2 separate regions of the Homo sapiens genome follow, and region 2 is linked to region 1. Evidence: promoter capture Hi-C in 16 types of primary human blood cells and fetal thymus (Javierre and others, 2016). All regions are on one chromosome and are shown on one strand. The core of a region is centred on a gene start or on the middle of the fragment in contact, and the rest is flanking DNA. Distances in the headings are between cores, read along the strand shown.

Evidence for each region. The method cuts DNA at HindIII sites, captures the fragments that hold promoters and counts their contacts. A CHiCAGO score of 5 or more calls a contact.
Region 2: a contact is called between the fragment with the promoter of PAPPA-AS1 here and the fragment with the promoter of ASTN2-AS1 in region 1, in 13 of 17 cell types (neutrophils, M2 macrophages, M0 macrophages and 10 more). The highest score is 13.5, in neutrophils.

The regions. Positions count from the first base shown.
Region 1 is chr9:116,502,042-116,506,184 of GRCh38, reverse strand. ASTN2-AS1 (ASTN2 antisense RNA 1) reads right to left here and starts at 1,902. Exons shown (of 12, transcript NR_033973.1): 1 at 1,841-1,902. The region is part of intron 19 of ASTN2 (astrotactin 2); the gene reads left to right. RefSeq lists an enhancer at 533-702. The HindIII fragment of the contact is 9,663 bases long and covers 1-2,588 here.
Region 2 is chr9:116,397,662-116,402,111 of GRCh38, reverse strand. PAPPA-AS1 (PAPPA antisense RNA 1) reads left to right here and starts at 1,506. Exons shown (of 1, transcript NR_103711.1): 1 at 1,506-3,955. PAPPA (pappalysin 1) reads right to left here. Exons shown (of 22, transcript NM_002581.5): 22 at 1-4,450. The HindIII fragment of the contact is 11,566 bases long and covers 1-2,464 here.

The DNA.
Region 1 (4,143 bases), core at 653-3,152:
AGTAACCACTTATTGAACACCTACTACATACCGAACACTATTCCAGAAGCTGAGGAGAAGGCACTGAACAAGCTCCTATCATGGAGCTTATGTTCCCGGTACAGAGGGTTGGGAGGCAATGATGGTAAAGTAATAGATGTGCAATACAGAGTCAAAGTGTACTATGTGTTTGAAAGAAAAATAGGGTATGAGGATAGAGGTTGGGGGCATACCATTTAGTTACAGTGATCAGGACAAACCTCTTTGAGGGTGTGATGTTTGAGCAGAGACCGGAAAGTGGGAGGAAGTGAACCATGTGGCTAGCTGAATGTAGACTGCTCCAGACTGAGGATGTAGCAATAGCAAAGCCCCTGGAGCATCCTCAGGAGCACCAAGGAGGGCACAGTCATTGAAGTGTAGTCAGCAAAGGGAGAGGGAAGGCGCTCTAGCTGGAGCAGTAGTGAGGCTTTGGATTGCCTAGGAGTTGATGGATATGAAAATACCAGGTACACTGTAAAGTTCTAGTGCAACATGAGTGCCCCCGACCCATCGCCACTTCTTGTTTTGGAATACATTTTATACATTAAGGAGAAGCACTGGGTCAGATATTTTACACATTGAATCCTTGAAACATTCTATTAAAATGGTAATACTTCTTATTCCTGTCTTACACAAGAGGATGCTAAAGGTAGGAAGCCCAGTTTTATTGGAATCCAAAGGTGGTTCTTTGCATATTGTGGCAGACTTCTGGTTTTGGTTTGGTTTTGCCTTGCTTTTCTTAAAAAATAAATTCTAATGACTACTCAGATCCATTTGCATTGATTGGGTATCCAGTAAGGGAGAGGTGGAAACAGGGAGGCGAGCTGGGCACCAGGGAAAAGCTGAGCGGGAACCAACATTGTTTCCACAGAGCAGAGACTCCCTGGATTCATGATCTAGATGGTTCCATTCATCAGTAGCCTCAAAGCGATTAAAGGAATGAGTAGACTATCAGATACTAAAAGCACACGAGATGAGAAGTCAGAGATATTGATGCCCCATATGCAAAGTAGGGTTCTCTGATGTGCTAGCATAGTTAGTAATTATTGAGAATGTAAAGCATTTCAGTCACTTTTAGAGGATGTGAAAGTGTGTCTGACCTTTACTCTTCCCTCATAATAGTCAAATCTCAGTTGCGCAATTTAACCAAGTGACCTTAGGCAAGTTAGTGGATCTCTCTGAATCTTGATATACTCATTTGTAAATTTGGGGAAATAAGCTAACTTGTGTTTTTTGTTGTTGTTGTTTTGGGTTTTTTTTTTTTTTTTTTTGAGACAGGATTTCACTTGGTCATCCAGGCTAGAGGGCAGTGGTACTATCTTGGCTCACTGCAGCCTTGACTTCCCAGGCTCAAGTGATCCTCCCACCTCAGCTTCCTGAGTAGCTGGAGCTACAGATGCACGATACAACACCCAGTTAATTTTTGTACTTTTGTAGAGATGAGGTCTTACTATGTCGCCCAGGCTGGCATATTGTTATTAAGCTGAAATGAGATGCAGTACATGAAATACTAGGCATAGTATCTAACATTGTGAATGCTTAAGTTATATCAATTGTCACTGTTATTCTGAATAATATTATTATTACTTGAGAGTGTAAGATAGAAATACAAGCAGTAGTTAGCAATATGAAACACTCTCACAGGGTTACTGTAAGTATCAGAAAAGATTAAGAGCTTAATAAACACTAGTTATTATTATTATCTCAATGTCCTTTAAGTAAAATGGGTTTTCTTCTTAGACCTCAGAAAGTAGGTGCTGTCTCTCCCATCTTACCTTCCCTTCTTTCTTTCTTTCTCCCTTACCGTCCTCTTTGCCCTCACCTTGGTTGGGCCCCCATCCTGGCGATGTCAGATGCAGTCGCACAGGTTTTGCTGCTCACAATGCTACCACATTCCAAAGCTCACCATTCCAATTGTAGACATCATAAACATGTATTAATCATTGATCAAGTGTCTTGTTCTAACAAATCAGAATATTGGAACAAGGGAGGGAAGTATCTTAAGAAAGAGATGATTTTTATTTTTCTATTGTTTTTCCAATTTGCACAGAGGCACCCTATAGGCTAGCAGTAATAGTCTGAGCTTTAGTTTTCCTGTCTGTACAATGAAGCCCTGAAACAGATGATGCCTCAGGATCCCCATGGTTTTGGGTCCTTGCAGGTCCAGAAGTGGGCACTGCACTACCCAAGTTCATGAAGTCAGCTTTGGGACTATGGAGAGCAGAACTGTGATATGGACTGTGATGCCTTAGAGACCTGTGGGTTCTTGGTCTCTCTACCTTAACCACAGGTACCTGTAAACTGGGGATGATAATCCTAAACTGCCTACCTCACAGGATTATCGTGAGGATTAAATGAGGAAAGAGCGTGCTTTGTAAGCCCTAATGAGCTGCACAAATTGGAAAGATTACTTACACCACACGAACACACTCATATATATATTAAGTATGTATGTGTGTTTATATTTTACATTGCAGTATGTATGTGTGCATGTGTGTATATATAGTATATGTGTGTGTATATATTATGTAAAGCTGTGAACTCATAGGGTTAGGTATGAATTAGAAGCTTGTAAAACATGTTTACTCATTCAGTGTAACCCAAGGCAGTTATTAAACAGTAGGAAAAACTGACCAGCTAAATTTTCCAAGCCTAAAAACGCTTTTATAGTTTTCATTGTGGATTGAAGGGTGACCTTGTTTCCTTTTCTTTATTTCAAGGAAAATTTTAACATAAATGAGGAAGCAAGGGAGTCATTTTAATAGAGTGAAAACCTCTATATGTGGGTGGGAGGGATAGATGAGGGGAGCTGAATGGAAATGCCAGTCACCCTCTCACTCTCCCCCCCTCCTCCTCCCAGATCATCTGCCCCGAGTAGCGGTGAGACCAGAAGTAAAGCTTCCCTGGTCACTCAAGGGCATCCATCTCCAGAAGATGCCCTTCTAGCTGGTCCTGCCGTGCCCTTCCTTCCTTCCTTCCTCCCTCCTTCTTCCTTCTTCCTTCCTTTCTCCTTTCTTCTTTCCTTACTTCCTTCCCTTCTTTCCTTTCTCCTTCCTTTTTTCTTTTCTTCCATCTTCCTTCCCTTCCTCCCTCCTTCCTTCCTTCCTTTCTTCCTTCCCTTCTTCTTTCCTTCCTCCTTTTTTCTTTCCTTTCATCTTCCTTCCTTCCCTCTCTCCCTCCCTCTCTCCTTCCTTCCCTTCTTTTCTTCCTCCTTCCTTTTTTTCTTTCCTTCCATCTTTCTTCCCTCCCTCCCTCCTTTCCTCCTTCCTTCCCTTCTTCTTTCCTTCCTCTCTTTTTTCTTTCCTTTCATCTTCCTTCCTTCCCTCTCTCCCTCCCTCCTTCATTCTCTTCTTCTTTTCTACCTCCTTCCTTTTTTCTTTCCTTCCATCTTCCTTCCTTCCTTCTCTCCTTCCTTCCCTCATTCATTCATTCATTCCTTCCTTCCTTCCTTCCTTCCTTCCTTCCTTCCTTCCTTCCTTCCTTCTTTCCTTTCTTCCTTCTGTTTTTCTTGTTTGCCTTGGTCTTGGTCTTTCTGACCCCGATTTTCTCTGTTTCTCTCTCTCTCTCCTCACCAACTCCTGTCTATGTCTCTCTATTTCTATCTGTCTTTCTAGGTCTCTGACCTTCTATCCACTTCTCTCTGATTGTCTTTTTTCTGCATTTTTATTTCTGGTTCTCTGTCTTTGGCCCTATGTGTTCTTATCTATGTCTCTCTCTTTCTCTCTCCATTTCTCCTCTGTCTCTCACTGTGGCTCTCAGTTTCTGCTTCAGTCTTTCTGAGTATTTTCTGGCTGTAGTTCTCTCTTGGTCTCTTTCTCTATTTCTCTCTCTCTCTCCTCTCTCTGTGTGTGAGTGTGTGTCTTTGTGTCTGTGTGTTGTGTGTCTCCTCTCTGTGTTTGTTTTTTGTGTGTGTCTCTCTCTGTCTCTCTCTGTGTGTCTCTATGTCTCTCTGCCTCTCTGTCCCTGTCTCTCTGTCTCTCTCTCTCACATACATGCATGCATACACATACACACACACACACACATTTGGAAATCTACCTCTCTCTGCCACCTCCCAGGTCCCACCTCCTTCTCAATGATTCACCTCAGCCTGGTTAAATGGTGTTGCTTGCATGACCAGAAAAC
Region 2 (4,450 bases), core at 257-2,756, 100 kb after region 1:
AGAAAAAATAAATTAGATGAACAATTGTGTAAATATAAATTAAAAAAGATGACATTCTTAATAAATAAAGTTTACTATTTACATTTTTATATATTGCCAAAAGATTTAACTTAGATCCATAAAAACACATAAACAGAAAAAAAAATAGGAGCAGCAAATTTATGCGCGTGAGGTACAGAAAAAGGATTGGAATTGTGTTTAGTTTTTGGTGTTTAGATTATTTTCTTTGTGTCTTTCTTCTTTTTCTTTTTTTTTTTCTTTTTTACAATAGGCCAGAAGAATTCTTATGAGAACAGCTTTTAAGCACTTCAATGGAGTGTCATTTTTTTGGTAGCTTCCAGAAGGTGCCAAACAGGTTTCAACATCATATTAATTAGAAATACCCATAATAATTATAACAATAATAAAAAGGTATAATATGGTACATAAATATGGAAGAGCAGTTTGTAATATGAATACATTTTCTCTAGACGAGATCACAGTTTTATTTTGTAAATATTACATTTAAGTATATATATACACACATATATGTACAACTATATATACATGTGCATATATATGTAAATTTATATTTATATATAATATCTTTATATAGATAGATATCTGCAGACAGGTTATTGATTATAGAGACCCAAGAAAGCAACTCAATAATTGTTCAAAGTTTTCCTCACTGACTGCTGGTGTGTAGTTTAAGAAGCCCCCATTTGTTTGCACTCAGAATGCCTTATCTTCTTTTAATGGAACACTTGATGTGGAATTTTAAGTCTGAGAAGTGAGGTGCCTTCTGAAGAAGAGATTTTAGAGACTCCCTTCCTCTATAAGTTGGAAATGACCAGAAGTCTTAAGTAGACGACAGTTAGCTGACTTTGACATTGTAGGACATAATCAGCTTTTAACCAAATTATAGAACTGGTAAAGGGTAAGATCAAATTTGCCAAAAAAATAAAATATTCTCCAATACAGGTCTCTCTTTTAAGGTGGACTACAATTCAGGAGCTCCGGCTTTATTCCTTGAAATATCAAACAAGCACTCCCTGTCTTGTCTTTCTAAAAGGCCGATGGGCCTGTGCATTCTTGAATAATAACCCATGGACTTTGTGTCAAGCGTTGGCCCTCACAGCCCACCTAAAACCTCAGGGCCTCAAAATCTCCTGCCCTCCCACTGTGAGGTAGGTATATAGTATTATCCCCATTTTGCAGCTAGAGAAACTGATGCAAATGTAGAGGCAATTGGATAACTTGTTCAAGATCACTGAGCAAACTGCTGCCTGGAGTCAAAAATTCTAACTTCTGTACAACAGGGACATAATTTCTCTTTTGGCTATTATACATTTCTTTTAAAAAGCAAGTGATTGGTAGGAATTTGGCAAAAGTTGAATAAGTTACAAGAACAGGCTTTTATTCATTTGCTATTTGGTTTTTATGTTTCTTGTTTACTTCGTTTGATTTGTTTCTCAAAACTCACTCAGTGGGATTACCTGTCTGTCATGTAGCAGCTTTTTAAAAAACTGGACTGTGCAGTGTGGTTCTGAGTGCAGTCTTTATAAAGCCCAGTGCTGTACTGGTAAATATAAACATTTTATAACGTGAAAAGCACAACGACACAATATGTCCCCTTAATAGCTGGAAAAACCAATATAAGCCCTCCCACTCCCTACTACCACTGATTGCCACCAAACAAATAAACAAAATGCCCACCCCACCCAACAACAACAATAACACATCAAGGGGGAAAATGTCATATTTCCTGGACCTACCACAATGTACAGAAAATAACAGACAGTGTTATCAAATCCCACTCTATGTCTTCTAGGGAAATCTTTATGTTTGTGTCTACCTACTGAGGCTGTAGAATAAACAATTTCCTTTAGGAAACATAAAAATAGGTTTTTTATTCTTAGTTTTTAATCATGCATTTTTATTTCCTTTTAATCTCTTTGTCTTCTATTATCTCTATCTGTACAGCTTTGTCACCATTTTTTTTTATTTTCTCACTTGAAGTAGTTCCAGAAAAAAACACAAAACCTCAAAACTGTTAACTTGACCTTATAATTTCCTTTCTCTTTCTTTCTTTCTTTCTTTTTCTTTCTTTCACACAGGTAAGACCTATAACAACAAATTGACAATTACAACCAAGTTAAATCGAACCTGGAAGGGAGGTAGCTGAAATCTGTCTCAAAGAATTATTTTCAACAAATAGTATTTAAGCATTGGCCAGGATGGGAATAAGACCAAGAGAACCGTCTAGGCAGTGACTCAATGTGTTGAAGCCAGGAGTGGCAGCTGATACCCTGCATTTTCAAAGCCCTACCATCTATGACAATCTTTCCCTTCCTTAACACCCCAATTCACCATCAAAACTCATTTCCCAAGGACTGTATTTCCTTAAAAGGTTGTTGGCACAGAATCTGGGGGTAATGCAAATCCTTTGGGTAGGTAGTTAAGATTGTGGCTTGGAAAAGCTTCCCTAAATAGGGCTTAGAGGACTGTCCACCTCATCTTTCATATTTTGCTGCTAACAATCTAATACTTCAGATGCAGAACCTTCAGTGTTTTAGGGCCTTTGAGCTGCTGACACACAATAGTGCATCAGAGCTGCCTCTCAGTGCTCCGGTCACCTACACAGAAGATGACTGAAGGAATGAAATGACGAGTTAATTCCCAGGAAGAAAATGAAACTGGGAACAAATGCATTGCCCAAATTGAGCTGACCCTCCTCCACTAAGGTTTGAAAAGACCCTATTAAAGATACCTTCCATGTGGGCACGAGGTTGGCCACCAATCAAGTAGCCTCTTTTGCCTAATATCCTTGGCAAATATAAATTTGTTAGCAACAGGTCTGAATGAAAGAGACTGGGTGGGTCTTGATTCAGAAGAGCTGAATTCACTCTGTGAGTCTGAAGATACAAGTCAGCCTCCAGGAATCTTTGCTTAGCTGGATAGTGTGAAAATAGATGATGATGGGAGTGAAGATAGAAAGAGGATAAGGACTGATTTGAGGGAAGCTGGTAAGGTTCTTCTGTGGCTCCTGAAATCACATCATTAGTAATGTCATCTTTGGGTCTTCAGAGCTTTTTGTATTACCTATGGGTATAATTAAGCAACTGGGAGGGTTGATACTGTTACATTTCTTAGCTTGTACCTTCTAAGGTAGTTAACACCACACAGGCTGATAACTCAGGGCAAGAGAGAGGCCTGGAGAGTTGACAAGAGTGTGAAGATACTGGAGAGGGGTTCAAAATAGGATCAATTCTTCTAATACTATTCTTATTTCTTGCTAATAATTTGTCCTTGTAATTATAGTGAAGTAATGGTCTGGATATAAATGAGATATGGTTTTGTGAGGAAGAAACATAGAGGATTATTCTTAACAACTGTGGCAGCCTTGCCAATATGGAACCCAATTTCAGAGTTTGTGAAATGGTACAAGTCTCATAAACTATCTCAGCACTGCATCCGTATTTGTGGGCACCTGTGCCAAAAGCACCTTGATATGTTTCTTAGTGTAATTGGCCAGAGATGGCCAATAGATGTCTTCTCAAGTGTTTTTGATCACCAGGTCAGTGCTATTGGGAGTGATATAATATGGTGGTTCCTAAAGTTATTTTTGGTCTCTTTTTTTTTTTTTTTTTAAGTGCTATGATAGATTAACAACACCTGCCTTGGATGCAGGAATTAGGTGGGGCTGCACACGTGCATGGTATTTTCTATCCCTATGCTAGGTTTTGTTTCTGTTGGCTGTCTTCACTAGACTTGAGATGACTTGATTTACAGTAATCCCTATGTGATGTAACTAGTCTAGACCTTCCCTTCTCCGCAATTCCCAGCTCCAGGTTTCAGAAAGTATGCCACACTCAACCCTTCTCTCCAGTTCATCCTGTATTAATTTCTTCCCATATTAATTCAAAGGGAGTGGACAGGTCCCTGGCTGAAAAGAAATAAAGAGATCCCCAAAGTGGTGGGGGCTTCCACGTGCAGTTGACTAATTTTCACTTAACTTTTGGAGGCTAGACATGGGAGAGAGAAAAGCACTGCCCAGTCACAGGTATGGAAGGGAGTACTGCTAGCTGGAAAAACCATATAGAAAACATGATGACCATGTTGAGTTGTTGGTGCTGAGGCTGTGAACTCTTTGGCTTCCTTCTGATGGCCCTCTTGAGAACAATCTGTACTGTTCTTATAAAAGATTCTTTCTCCCAGAATTATATCTCCTCAGAGCAACAGCAAGGTTCTCAGGATCAAAGCCTACTCTAGCCTGAAGGGCTAGGAAGATTAGGATAAGGATAAGGATAATAATCCAAAAGTCTCGACAATTCCAGTAGTCTCTGGATGGCTCCAACATCATAGAAATTTAACACTGTTCCACTTGTTTACAAAATCTAACACTGGCTTAGACATTCTGGACTTTCAGTGAGGGTTCCAGCATCTGATGTCCCTCAACTCCTTTCCA